Regions from separate parts of the Homo sapiens genome. Here all the other regions are linked to region 1. Evidence: promoter capture Hi-C in human tissues and cell types (Jung and others, 2019). All regions are on one chromosome and are shown on one strand. The core of a region is centred on a gene start or on the middle of the fragment in contact, and the rest is flanking DNA. Distances in the headings are between cores, read along the strand shown. Region 1 holds the start of KLHL22 (kelch like family member 22). Region 2 has its middle 120 kb from the start of MED15. Region 3 has its middle 110 kb from the start of SERPIND1.

Evidence for each region. Contacts are between HindIII fragments. The study calls those that stand out against the background at their distance.
Region 2: a fragment that was not itself captured here is called in contact with the fragment with the promoter of KLHL22 in region 1 in 2 of the 25 tissues and cell types used here (H1 embryonic stem cells and IMR-90 fibroblasts).
Region 3: a fragment that was not itself captured here is called in contact with the fragment with the promoter of KLHL22 in region 1 in 3 of the 25 tissues and cell types used here (H1 embryonic stem cells, mesenchymal stem cells and pancreas).

The regions. Positions count from the first base shown.
Region 1 is chr22:20,493,195-20,497,948 of GRCh38, forward strand. KLHL22 (kelch like family member 22) reads right to left here and starts at 2,601. Exons shown (of 7, transcript NM_032775.4): 1 at 2,566-2,601. LOC101928824 (a long non-coding RNA gene) reads left to right here and starts at 2,719. Exons shown (of 4, transcript XR_007068011.1): 1 at 2,719-3,493. RefSeq lists a silencer at 2,261-2,920 and an enhancer at 3,115-3,767. The HindIII fragment of the contact is 15,001 bases long and covers 1-4,754 here.
Region 2 is chr22:20,624,587-20,629,338 of GRCh38, forward strand. It overlaps the pseudogene SMPD4P1. Among named protein-coding and RNA genes, the nearest start is that of MED15, 120 kb to the left of the region's middle. The HindIII fragment of the contact is 4,060 bases long and covers 1-3,715 here.
Region 3 is chr22:20,661,526-20,666,481 of GRCh38, forward strand. No RefSeq gene overlaps it. Among named protein-coding and RNA genes, the nearest start is that of SERPIND1, 110 kb to the right of the region's middle. The HindIII fragment of the contact is 5,707 bases long and covers 568-4,956 here.

The DNA of each region.
Region 1 (4,754 bases), core at 1,351-3,850:
GGCAGCTACTCCCTAAACCCATACTGCAAAAACAAGTACGGTAAAACAGAAAGACATCTTCCATGGGCAGGCAAAGCACATTTACCAAGTCCAATTTAAGAAACTTAGCTAGGGGCTAAGGGGGATATGCTGAAAAATGAATCAATTCTCTGCTGGGAAGGAGCACAGCACAGGGTGCAACATTTAAAACATTTAAAACCACATCTATACGGTTTTAAATCACCAAAACGTCCACCCTCAGGAGAACAGATGTCATGGCACAGTGATCTGACAGAACATTAGGCAACAGTCAAAATGCGCAAAGTGGCCGGGCGCAGTGGCTCACGCCTGTAATCCCAACACTTCGGGAGGCTGAGGCGGATGAATCACGAGGTCAGGAGTTCAAGACCAGCCTGGCCAACATAGTGAAACCCCATCTCTACTAAAAATACAAAAAAATTAGCCGGGCATGGTGGTAGGTGCCTATAATCCCAGCTACTTGGGAGGCTGAGGCAGGAGAATCACGCCACTGCATTCCAGCCTGCATGACAGTGCGAGACTCCGTCTCAAAAACAAAAAAACAAACAAAAAAACAATGTGCAAAGTAGGCTGGGCACAGTGGCTCATGCCTGTAATCCCAGCACTTTGGGAGGCCAACGTGGGAGGATCACCTGAGGTCAGGAGTTCAAGACCAGCCTGGCCAACATGAGGAAGCCCCATCTCTACTAAAAATACAAAAATTAGTGGGGCGTGGTGGCGCATGCCTGTTATCCCAGCTACTGGGAAGGCTGAGGAAGGGGGAAGCTGAGGCAGGAGAATCGATTGAACCCAGGAGGTGGAGGTTGCAGTGAGCCAAGATTGTGCCATTGCACTCCAGCCTGGGCGACAGAGCCAGACTTTGCCCCCCCCCCAAAAAAAAAAGTGCAAAGTAGGCTGGGCATGGTGGCTCATGCCTGTAATCCCAGTGCCTTGGGAGGTCCAGGTAGGTGGAGTTCAAGACCACCTTGGGCAATATAGCGCGACCCTTTCTCTACAAAAAATTTAAAAATTAACTAGGCATGGTGGTGTACACCTGTAGTCCTGGCTATCTGGGGTGAGACAGCTTGGGGTTCACTGCAGTCTCAAGCTCCCAGGTTCAAGTGATCCTCCCACCTCAGCTTCCTCAGAAGCTGGAACAACAGGAGCTCACCACTGCGCCCGGCTAATTTTTCAAATTTTCTTTGTAGAGAAGAGGTTTCACTATATGGTGTAGGCTAGAGTGCAGTGGTAGGGTCTTGGCTCACTGCAGCCTTCATCTCCTGGGTTCAAGCGATTCTCCTACCTCAGCCTCCCGAGTAGCTGGGATTACAAGCACGTGTCACCACACCCAGCTAATTTTTGTATTTTTAGTAGAGACGGGGTTTCACCATGTTGGCCAGGCTAGTCTCTCCTGACCTCAGGTGATCTGCCAGCCTTGGCCTCCCAAAGTGCTGGGATTACAGGCATGAGCCACCGCGCCCGCCCCCAGTCTCATATCCCCAATTTTAGTCATCACAAGCCAAGTTCCCCGTTTTGTACTGTTCGAAGTTTCAGTGGGGAGAAGAAAGGAAGCTTAATGTGCCACATAGCTACAAACTGAAGGATACAAGATGAATTTTTATGAAGTGATGGATGGCAGAGTCAAAATCATTTCAGAGGAACTTTCAGTTCGGTACGATTTTACTGAGTAGATACCCTCAGCCTTCTGTAGGGCCCCCGAACGAGCAGTATCCCCTCAAAGAAACTCAATCCTTGGCAGCATGAAGCAAGGTCGGCCACAAAGGCAAAGGGGGCGGCTGCGGTAGAGGAGAGGGAGTGGGTGCTGATTCCCAGCGGGGCAGCCTTCCAAAGGGTGCGCTCTGGAAGAATCTCCCAGGGAGCCGTCTTGGAGGCACTCGGCCCCGCGGAGGGCCGGAGCGAGGGCGCCCAGTGAGGAGCCCAGGCGGAAGGTGGCGGTGCCCCGCTGCCCGCCCCAGATCCACTCGGCTCGGCCCGCACCGGATCTAAAATGGTCAGAACTGGCAGCCGACGCTTCGCGCTCTGGTGATTTTGCACTGACAGCGCGATCTCCGGCTCCTCTCAGGAAACCGGGAGAGCTGGCAAGGCTGGGCTCCTACGGCTGCAGTCCCCGGGCCCGATCGAGGGAACTGAGGCTCGTCAGGCCGGCCCCAAATCGCCCGCCTGTTGCAAGGCCGCCCGCTCCAGCGCGGAGGGTCGCGGCCAGGAAGGCCGCATTCGGACCTGCCGCAGGCAACAGGGCCCGCCCGGGTGCCAGGAGGCCGGCGCGCCAGCAGCCGCGCTGAGGAGGCCTCGCACCCTGGCCCCTGGCCGAGCGCCAGATCCCGGCCCCTACGCGCCCGCGCCCGGGGATCCCGCCGGCCGCGTCCCCGCCACGTCAGGCCGCGGGCTCTCCTCAGGTCGCCGCCCCCGAGCCTCCGGCCCGCGCCCGCCCCCGCGCCCCTCGGACTCCGCGCCGCTAGCTTGTCCCCGGCCCAGCGATGCCTGCTTGCCGCCCGACCCCCGCGTTCGCTGCCGCCCGGCCCGTTCGGCTCACGCCTCGCAGCTGACCTGGTGCCGCCGCCAGCCGAGGCCGCACTCGCAGCTGGAGGGAGGCGGGAGGCGGGAGGCGGGAGGCGCGAGGCGGGAGGCTGGGCGAGAGGAGCCGGCGGGGCGGGGGCCTGGGCCGTCACGTGGGTGCGCCGCGCAGGCGCCGGGCGGGCCAGACGTAGGCCCGGGGGTTCCCGGCCTGGCCGGGTAGCAGCGCGGGGGCGGCCCTGGGGCGGGGAGACAGGGGGCGGCTCCACTCCGGCGCTCTGCGGAGGACAGCAGCGATCGCCAAGGCTCAGTGAGTCCCCGCACTAGCGCGGCACCTGGCACTTGGCGGGGCCGAACCAACGAATGAGCGAATTTGCCGAGAGTCGCCCCGTCTGAATCCATTGACTCTTTCCTTGCCTCGGTCCTACCCTCATTCCTCGACTCACTTCCTCCTGCCCTTCCTCACTATCTCCCTCCCCGCTCATATCCTCCCTCTCCTTTCCTCATTCCCTTCTTCACTCTCTTCTCTCCTCTCTTACTCCCCCCCTCTCATTCCCTCCCTCCTTCACTCTCTCATTCCTTCCCTTCCTATCTTACCCACCATTCCCTTCCTCCCTCACTCATTCACTCCCTCCCTGTCTCCCCCTCTCATCCCCTCCCTCTCTCATTCCCTTTCCCTCCCTCCTTAACTCTCGTTCTCTCCTCCCTCTCTCATTCCTTCCCTCCCTGTCTCATTTCCCCCCTTCTTTCCCTCCCTCCCTCTCCTCTTCTCCCATTGCCTCCCTCCCTCTTTGATTCCCTTCTTTCCTCCTCTCCTCCACTTGTTCCCTTCGTCACGCGCTCATTCCCTCCCTCCCGCGGCCTGCTCCTTCCCCGCTCCCTCCGCGGTCGGTGCCGCTGACCGTAGCGCGCCCCCTGCGGGATATCGGGGAGAATCGCTTAACACCGCCAGAGTGAACAGGTGCTAGTTTGTGTGCCCGTTCCTTTACTGAGATTTTGCAGTAAATCTAATTCCCAGTCTTAAAGCCTGGTCCCAGAGGTCCGTGCGCGGGTCTTGGCATTCATTGTTCTCCACCTCACCTTCGAGCAGGTCCCATCCTCCGAGGCGTATCCGTAATGGCTGCGCCCAGAGCTTGGAGCCACAGAGCCTCCTGATGGGATAAGGTTGGAGTGTCCCACACTGTGGTTTTGAGAGGGACTGTGAAGGGTGGAGAGAGTGGTAGGGGGAGGATGTGGCTGGAGATGGCTCATGGTTAAAAAGAAAGGTGGGGCCGGGCTTGGTGGCTGGCGCCTGTAATCCCAACACTTTGGGAGGCCGAGACGGGCGGATCACGAGGTCAGGAGATGGAAACCATCCTGGCCAACATGGTGAAACCCCATCTCTACCAAAACACACACAAAAAAACTAGCCGGTCGTGGTGGCGCGCACCTGTAGTCCCAGCTACTCGGGAGCCTGAGGCAGGAGAATCGCTTGAACCCGGGAGGCAGAGGTTGCAGTGAGCCGAGATCACGCGCCACTGCACTCCAGCCTGGTGACAGAGCGAGACTCCGTCTCAAAAAAAAAAAAAAAAAAAAAAAAAAAAATTGGTGGAAGGGGAATGTAAAAGGAGGAAAATACACGGAAGAGAATTGCTGTCCTGGCTGAGTCCAGAGAGATAACTGAGGGTCCCAGACAAGGATCAAGAGAACGGGATTGGCCTCCAGAGGCAGAGGTTCCAAATGGGAGTGGGCTTCCTCCTAGAAAGACTTTCTGGAGGAGACCCCCCTACTGTGTAACAGAGGAGGACTTTGGGATTAAGAAAAGCATTCCAGGAAGCCGACAGTGTCAGCAAACGTGGAGGTGAGATCCTTCAAAGTGAGTGGTGTGGAGGTTTCCAGAATTTTCTGAGCCTGAAGGGAAGGTTGGAGAGCAGACCCTGCCCTTTGGAGGCTTGACTTAGCCCTGAGGGCACCCTGTAGCCAGGGTGGGCAGATGCCAATATGGTAGAGACGAAGACTGAGTAGGGAGCCAGCCACAGTGCTGTGGTCTCAGGCAGGGAGTGAAGACCAGAGTGGAGCAGGCTAGAAACCTGGGAAGGAAGCAGGTTCCCCAGTATAAGCCCAGTGATGTGTGAAGAATGAGCCCAGGAGATGGGTGGGGAAGTAGGCCCACCCTGCCTACAGGGGAGCCAGAGCAAGAGCAGGTCTGGGGGAAGATGAGGCCCCCCTTGGCTCCAGGTAGG
Region 2 (4,752 bases), core at 436-2,935, 130 kb after region 1:
ACCTGATGGACCATCATGATTACACAGTTGTGATCATCAGTAAGAATGCCCAACAAAATCAGGGCTACAGCATCCTCTCTTAACTGAGCTGTCTTTTATTCAGCAGACAGTGAACCTACTAAACCAATGACCTTAAAACACAGGGCAGGGCCGGGCGTGGTGGCTCACGCCTGTAATCCCAGCACTTTGGGAGGCCAAAGTGGGCAAATCACAAGGTCAGGAGTTCAAGACTAGCCTGGCCAAAATGGTGAAACCTTGTCTCTATTAAAAAAACACAAAAAAATTAGCCGGGCTTGGTGGTGCATGCCTGTAATTCCAGCTACTCTGGAGGCTGAGGCAGGAGAATCGCTTGAACCTGAGAGGCAGAGGTTGCAGTGAACTGAGATCGCACCACTGCACTCCAGCCTGGGCGACAGAGAGAAACTCCGTCTCAAAAAAAAAAAAAATAAAACAAAGCAAAACAACAACAACAAAACACACACACACACACACAAGGCAGGTAAAAATTATAGATGGCTTGCACCAAGTAAACACTAAACATAAAGGCAATGGAGAGGCCAGAAAAGACTCAGGACAAGGACTAATAAAATCTACCCACAGTCGTGGGATATACGGAAAGCATCCTGACTACAAGGATAAAAATAGCGTCTGTGCAAATGGACTCACATCAGGAGAAACTGCTAGAATCTGTCTACCTCCAAATGCCTTGTCTACCTCCAAATGAGGGTGGATTTCACAGGATTTGAGACAAGAGATGGAGACCTGAGTTGTCTGGCCATGTGGCAGACCTGGTGGCTCTAGTGGGGTGCCCTGGGGAGGAACGTCCTTCCACATACATATTTACAAAAATACCTCCTAAGAACTAAAATTAGGAACTTTCATCACCAATACTTGCTCATACCTAACTTCTCGCTTCTCAGTATCATTTTTTCTTTTTTTTTTTTTTGAGTCTTACTGTGTTGCTCAGGCTGGTCTTAAAACTCCTGGGCTCAAGTAATCCTCCTTCCTCGGTGTCCTTAGTAGTTAGAACTACAGATACGGACCATTACACCCAGTTCTCAGCACCATGTTTAATAGTTAAAGTGCTAACCTAGCACCCCCTCAGAACATAAGAGTGTCTCCATTTTTCACTAATGACAATTATGATTATCAGAATGTTTCATGTCTGTTTAAGAACTTACAGATCATGAACACTCTGATGTACATCATTCTCATTTGCTCCTCCCCCTCCTCCTCCTCATACCCCCTTGGGAAGTAGAGAAAATAGAACTTGAATGAATTTGTCTTGTATGGGAAAACCCAGAGCCCAGAGCCCAGCGGTTGAGTAACCCCAAGGCCCTGTAGTAATAAGGGGGCACAGTCAAGCTTAAGGAGTCTGGCATTGCTTCCATCACACGCTCCTAAAAGACAACCACTAGAGAATTCTTCAAGTCAATGGGAAGAACATTCAAGTCCCACAGCTACAGAGCTGTGGCCACACTGACACTCATCCAGACAGCTGATATTTACCAGTAGAAAGCTGGGCCGCTGCAGGTGAGGGAACGCCATAAAAGCCTCCAGTGGAGAGTTGAAAATGGCCTTCTTAGCAAACCACTGTGGAAAAACAGAGACAAAATCTCAACATCTGCAGCACAGCAGAATCTTTTTATTTTTCTAGAGACAGGGTCTCATTCTGTTGCCCAGGAGAGAATGCAATAGCACGATCATAGCTCACTGCAACCTCAAACTCCTGGGTTCAAGCAATCCTTCCCCCTGAGCCTCCTGAGTAGCTGGAACTACAGGCACACACCACCATGCCTGGCTAATTTTCTTCTTATTTTCTTTTTTGTAGAGACAGGGTCTCGCTATGTTGCCCAGGCTAGTTTCAAATTCCTGGCCTCCACTGGCCCTCCTGCCTTGGCCTCTTAAGTGCTGGGATTACAGGTGTAAACCACTGCACCTGGCCCTAACAAAATATTACATAGTTTCACAATGCCCAGGAGAACATTTGTGTAACTCAACATGCATTACATTATCGATTCTCATGTCTTCTTTATTTATTTGTAGAGACAGGGTCTTGCTTTCCCACTCAGGCTGGAGTGCAGTGGTATGATCATAGCTCACTGCAACCTCAGACTCCTAAGCTCAAGCGATCCTCCTGCTTCAGCCTCCCAAATAGCTGGGACTACAGGCACACACCACCAGGCCCTGCTAATTTTTATATTTGTTGTAGAGATGTGGTTACATCATGTTGCCCAGGCTGGTCTTCAGCTCCAGGGCTCAAGTGATCTACTTGCCTCAGCCTCCCAAAGTACTGGGATTACAGGCGTGAGCCACCACGCCCGGCCAGCAATTCCCACATTTTACAGAAACACCATTCGCATGCAGCCCACAGTGGCCAGCTTCAGAGCCAAGTCTGTGGTACTGAATCCTTGGTAATGCTTGTACAGCACTTGCTGTATGCCAGGACTTGCTCTATACACCACACACACTGTCAGTCCCCAGGAGGGGAATGTGGTATGTGATGCTTCATAAACACATTGAACTCTTTCTGCCAAGGAACAGCCATTAACACCTTGGGGTTACTTGCAACTCACCTGTGGACTGTTGGTCTGAGCTATTGTCCATCACTTGCAACTCAGTGTACACAGGTTCATCAGAGCTGGTCCCAAAAGCAAGTCCAAGCGCTGGAGAGCATGAGTGGGAAATCTCACTTCCACCTCGGATGGAGAAAAACTTCAGCAAGATTGTCATTTTATCTTTCCGACCCAGATGGACTCCATCTTGACTCAAAGACAACCAGAACATCACCAAGCATCTCCTACAGGGCAGGCTTGGTACTAGGTGGTTTTATTTAGATTATTTCATGGAATGTTCAGGAGAATTGCTCCCTCTTCACTCCTGAATTCTTGATGCAGTTCTTCCACTTTCGCCCTTTCTTCTCGTCTCTGTCTCATTCAGCTCCCTCATTACAAACCTTCCAACTGGCTGGATGGCGCAGTTGCTCAACCAGCAGAGAGCACTGGGGTAGCCCCAAATAAATGTTCATGTCATCTCCAAATTACCAGCACTATTCCCAGGTCCCAATTCAAGACAAAACCTTATCAGCCTCATCAGTGAGAGCACGTTTTCACCGAGCTGAGTAAAAACTTAGGTACAAGACCATTCAGTGGGGAAAACACTCATTTCTTTGAAGAATGGTGCTGGGAGAACTGGATATCCACATGCAAAAGGATGAAGCTGGACCCCTACATCACACCATATACAAAAATTAAGTCACAATAGGTCAAAGCCCTAAGTATAAACACTAAAACTGTTAAACTCTAAACAAAAAACATGGAATTACATTTTCAAGATCTTGGATTTGGCAATGGATTCATTCTTATTTGGTTTTTAACTTCATTGTGAGCCAATTTAGCATCCAAAATTCCAGTAGGTTTGGTAAAAATTGACAAGCTGATTCTAAAATTATAGCAAAAATGTAAAGGGCAGGCCGGGTGCAGTGGCTCACACCTGTAATCCCAGCACTTTGGGAGGCTGAAGCAGGTGGATCACTTGAGGTCAGTAGTTTGAGACCAGCCTGGCTAACATGGTGAAACCCCATCTCTGCTAAAAAAAAAAAGAAAACACCAAAAATTATCCGGGCATGGTGGAGTGTGCTGTACCTGTAATCTCAACTACTTGGGAGACTCAGGCAGGAGAATCACTTGAAGCCGGGAGGCGGAAGTTGCAGTGGGCCAAGATCATGATACTGCACTCCAGCCTGGGTGATAGAGTGACTCTGTCGAAAGAAAGAAAGAAGGAAAGAAAAAAAAGAAAAAGAAGAAAGAGAGAGAGAGAGAGAGACAGACAGACAGACAGAAAGAAAGAAAGAAAGAAAGAAAGAAAAGAAAGAAAGAGAAAGAGAAAGAGAGAAAGAAAGAGAGAGGGAGGGAGGGAGGAAGGAAGGAGAAAAAAATGTAAAGGACAAAGAAAATCTAGACTCTTCTTAAAGGACAACTCACCTCATCCTGGTCATCTTGGCGTCTTCATGATTATGAGCATGAGGACTTCTAGAATTCTCTCTCTCTGTCCCCTGTCCTCTCTAGGATTCCACAGTCTTCCCAGGTGACCAATACTTGGGATCCACCTTTCAGGCAAGGTCCTCTTCTTACCCATGGGGCTTACATATCTAATCCAGTGGTTCTTACCCAGAGCTGTGCACTGGCACCAGGACACCCCAGGCACACTTGGGGCAGCCCCTAGAGATTCGGTTGGTCTAGTTTGGAGTCTTCTTCCACAAACGCGACTGTGATTGATTTACATCTGTGACTGAATCCCTAGTGAAGATGCCTAATTGCAGCACAGTGACCTCAGTGACGCTAGCCCTAAGCATAGCCACCCAGAAGAACAGGGCATTTGGCCAAGCGAGAGTGGTGTTCTGAGGAGGGTCCTGGTCACACACCTCCATCTGTCTCCACACCTGTCTGGCCATCTGGGCCCAGCTAATCGGAGTCCAGTACCTCTTTTCTTGGTCTCAGGCCCACACAGCTTCACTCTTCGCATGTAAGCCATGCCCCTCTGAATTTCTGATGCCACTATCTTATCTCCAGTGCTGGAGTTACTACTTCTTTCAGGGAACATCACAATTCTTTCCGCATTTGAAACTTCCCACTTTCAAAAGTTTTGTCTTTCTCAGTGTCACCTCCTCTGTCTAAGGGTAGGGCCCAGGTGTGAGAAGCAGGGAACTAAGAGAACCATCCTGACTCTCGGGGAGCTGTTCTGCCTTGGCCC
Region 3 (4,956 bases), core at 2,171-4,670, 170 kb after region 1:
CATACTGTTGCCATTTTTTACTTGTTTTCTAGTTGTTTTGCTACTCTCTTTTTTTGTTTTCTCCTTTCCTTTCTCTTCTCTCCTCTCTCTCTCCTTTCTTCCTTTCTTTTCCTTCCTCTTTCCCTTCCTTCCTGTCTTTATTTGTAGTGAGGTCATTTTCTCTGGTAGTGTGTTTTAATTTCTTGCTTTTTTATTTTTAGGGTGTCTATTACTGATTTTTGTTTTCTGGTCAGCATGAGGCTAAACAACATAATTATAACGAGTTATTTTAAACTGAAGAAAACTTAACCTTGATTGCAAAGAACAAAAAAGAGAGAAACAAAAAAAACTAAAAACATTTACCCTGTAACTCTATCCCCCGCAACACACACACATTTTGTATTTAGATGTCTTTCAGTATTTTTTTTTTTTTTTTTTTTTTTTTTTGAGACGGAGTCTCGCTCTTTGGCCCAGGCCGGAGTGCAGTGGCGCTATCTTGGCTCACCGCACGCTCCGCCTCCCAGGTTCACACCATTCTCAGCCTCCCGAGTAGCTGGGACTACAGGCGCCAGCCAACGCGCCTGGCTAATTTTTTGTATTTTTAGTAGAGATGGGGTTTCACCATGTTAGCCAGGATGGTCTCGATCTCCTGACCTTGTGATCCGCCCGCCTTGGCCTCCCAAAGTGCTGGGATTACAGGCTCAGTATGTTTCTATATTGCCTATCCCTTTAAAAATTGTTGGGTTATATTATTATTTTAACAATTTTGTATTTTAGCCTTCACATGAAAGATATAGGTTGCTTATACATCACAACTATAGTATTCTAAATTTATCTGTGTACTTTTAGTAATGAGATTTATACCTTCAGATGGTTTCTTGTTACATGTTAGCATCATTTTCTTTCAGACTGAACAACTCCCTTTAGCATTTCTTGTAAACCAGGTTTGGTAGTGATGCATTTCCTCAGCTTTTGTCTGGGAAAAGTATTTATCTCTTCTTCATTTTTGAAGGATCTATTCTTTGGGTGTGGTTTTTTTCATTGGTATTGTTTTTCTTAAGCACTTTGAATATGTCATCCCACTTCTCCCATAGGAGGGAGGCCCTCAGCCTGTTTAATTTTTGCTGAGAACTCTGCTTCCTGACATATCAAAGGTCCTCAATATGTTGTTTGATTCACTTCTCTTGCTGTTTATAGTATCCTCTTTGTCCTTGACATTTGGAGTTGGATTATTATATGCCTTGGCATAGTTTTTTTTTTTTTTTCCTTGAGATGGAGTCTCGCTCTTGTTGCCCAGGCTGGAGTACAGTGGCACAGTCTTGGCTCACTGCAACCTCTGCCTCCTGGGTTCAAGCAATCCTCTTGCTCAGCCTCCCAAGTAGCTAGGATTATAGGCACCCACGACCATACTTGGCTAATTTTTGTATTTTTAGTAGAGATGGGGTTGCACCATGTTGGCCAGGGTGGTCTCGAACTCCTGACCTCAAGTGATTCACCTGCCTCGGCCTCCCAAAGTACTTGGGATTACAGGCCTGAGCCACCGCACCTGGCCACTTTGGCGTAGTCTTATTTGGCTTGAATCTGCTTGATGATCTTTGGTCTTCATGTACCTGGATATTTATATATTTCTCTTGAATTGGAAAGCTTTCTGTTACCATCTTTTTGAATAAGCTTTCTACTCTTTCTCTGCTTTCTCTTGAAGACCAATGACTCTTAAATTTGCTCTTCTGATACTATCCCATAGATTTCCTAAGCTGCCTTCATTCTTTTTTTTCTTTTCTTTTTTCTCCTATTGTGTATTTCAAATGGCCTGTGTGAGCTCACTGATTCTTTCTCTGTTGGATCAGTTCTGCTGTTGAGGCCCTCTCATGCATTTTTCAGTGCATCCATTATATTTTTCAGCTTTGAGGTTTTTGTGGTCTTTTAAAATTATTTCAATCTCTTTGTTAAATTTCTTTGATACATTTCCGAATTACTTATATTTTTAAAATTGCATTGATTTTCCTCAAAACAGCTATTTTTTACCTCCCTCTCTGAATAGTTTAACATCTTTATCTCTCCTAGGTTAGTCACTGGTGACTTGTTTATTGTTTGGTGAGGTCATACTTCCCTGAATGTTCTTAATGCATTTGGGCCTATGTTCATGCCTGGGAATTGAATAAGTCAGTATTTATTCCAGTCTTTGTAGTCTGGTCTTGTTTGTACCTGTCCTCCTCTAGATGGTCTTCCAGAAATTCCAAGGGTACTGACTATTGAGTTCCCTAAGGCTGGGGTCACTGAAGCTGTTTCAGCACCAGGGTGCCCTAAGCTCAGGTTCACTGTGACTCTTGCAGGACTGAGGTCCCAGAGGGCCCTGATGGACTTGGAGAAGATAAGGGAGGGGTTCCCTGGGTTCCCAGGCAAAGTGCTTCATTCACTTCCCTCTTCTTCCCATTGGAAGGAGTCTGGGTACTAAGCTTTGTGGATCTGGGAGAAGGGTGGCTTGGGCACTCCCATGGCCACTGCAGCTGGCACCACATACCCGAAGCCCACAGCCTCTAGGACCAGAGCAGCACTGGGGCTTGTCTGAGTCCTGTGGCCACTACTGCCTGACTGCTGCTGACTTATGTAGGTCTTGAGGCCGAGCTACTCTGCTGGTGGTGAAGCTGGCCAGGGTTTAGGTCCATCCCGCCAGGGCAGCAGGTTCTCTTCTACCTCCAGGCAGGTCTAGAGGTGTCTGGGAGCTCCTGCCTGGGATCAGGGCCACTGTGTTCTGCCTGATGCTGTGTCCACCGTGGTGGAGCCTGGACTGGGTTCTCCTCTTTCCTGCATAGGAAAGGAGTTCTCCCGGCACTGCACTGCCTGGAGTTGGGATTAGGGTAACACAGGCAGCCCTGTGGCCACTGTAGCGGATGTCATATATGAAACCCACAGCCTCCCAGACCAGCACATCATTGGTTGCTGGGGCTCACCCAAGGACCACAGTGGCTATGGCCTGCCTGCCACTGAAATTTATTCAGAGCCTGAGGCCACTTTAAACAGCTGGTGGTGAAGGAAGTCAGGACTCAGGTTTGTCCCACCGGGCAGTGGATTCCCTTCTAGCCCAGGTCATGTCTAAATGCTCTGTCTGTGGGCACCGGCCTGGAATCAAGGACCATGGGGTTCTGCCCAGTGCTGTGTTTTACTGTAGCAGAGCTGGTACTGGGCTCCAAGGCAAAGTTTAATGCACACTCTCTTCTCCCTCCTGGAAGTGGACACATTGTCTCTCTGCACTGCCTGGGGTTGAGGGAGGGATGGTATAGGCACTGCAAGACTGTCTTTTCCACCCTGTTTAATGTGTCTTTTCTTGTTTTTAAGCTAAAACCAGGTTCTGTGATCTGTCACCTGATTTCTTTGGCTCTTGTGAAGGTATTCTCTTGCTTAGATTGTTGGTGGTTCAATTTGATGTTCCTGCAGGGAGACAATCTTGTAGAGTTCTATTCTGCCATCTCGCTCCACCACTTCTCATTTATTTAATTGTTCTTCAACTTATTTCAACAATATTTTGCAGGTTTCAAAGTATGAATTTTGCACTGCTCTTGTTAATTTCTAAATTTATTACTTGTTTTGTTGGTATTATACATGGGTTTGTTTCCTTAATACCATTTTAAAGCAGTTTATTGATAGTATATAGAAATAAAATTAAATTTTTAGTATTGCATTTATATCTTGAAACTACGTCAAATTTATTTCTAATAGTATTTTACTGAATTTCTTAGAATTATATATGAGATCGTGCCATGTGTAAATATAAAAAAATTATTTTCTTTTCAATAAGGATGTTTTAAATTTTCCGTTCTTTACTACACCTCGCTACAATCTACAATATAATGTTGAATAGAATTTGCAAGAGTGGACATTCTTGTAACTGATTAGTCATTCACCCTCTCATTGCTGAGTATAATGATAGCTGTAAGTTTCATAGGTAACTACCACTAGTTTCAGGAAGTTACCTTATTGTTCGTAAATTTGGAGTGTTTTGTTTTTTTTTTGTTGTTTTTTTTTTTTTTTGGAGACAGAGTTTCACTCTTTTTGCCCAGGCTGGAGTGGTACAATGGCGAGGTCTTGGCTCACTGCAACCTCCGCCTCCCAGGTTCAAGCGATTCTCCTGCCTCAGCCTCCCAAGTAGCTGGGATTACAGGCGCCTGCCACCATGTCTGGCTGAGTTTTTGTATTTTTAGTAGAGACGGGGTTTCACCATGTTGGCTAGGATGGTCTCAGTCTCTTGACCTCGTGATTGCGCCCGCCTCAGCCTCCCAAAGTGCTGGGATTACAGTTGTGAGCCACCGCTCCCAGCCTGGAGTGTTTTTATTATTAGAATGTGTGATATTTTCTCAAATGCTTTCTGTCTGAGATGCTTATATATTTTTGTCTTTTATTCTGTTAATATGGTGTTTGCATGCAATGATTTTCAAATATTAAATCAATGGTGCATTCCTGGGGTAAATCACATCTGCGTATAGTGCATAATCTATTTTATATGTTTCTGGATTCAGTTTGGCAATATTTTGTTGAAGACTTTTGATTTTATAAAACAATGTGCTGGGCGTGGCGGCTCACGCCTGTATAATCCCAGCACTTTGGGAGGCCTAGGTGGGTAGATCACCTGAGGTCAGGAGTTCGAGACCAGCCTGGCCAACATGGTGAAACCCTGTCTCTACTAAAAATACAAAAATTAGCCATGCATGGTGGTGCACGCCTGTAATCCCAGCTACTTGGGAGGCTGAGGCAGGAGAATCGCTTGAACCTGGAAGGTAGAGGTCGCAGTGGGTTGAGATTGCACCACTACACTCCAGCCTGGATGACAGAGTGAGACTCTGTCACACACACACAAAATGAAAGATACTGTTCTATATTGTTTTGTGATACAGTTTTGGTGTCAGTAATCCTGGCTTTATAAAATGAATTGGGAAGTGTTCTCTCCCCTTTTATTTTCTGCAAGAGTTGGTGAACAATTGA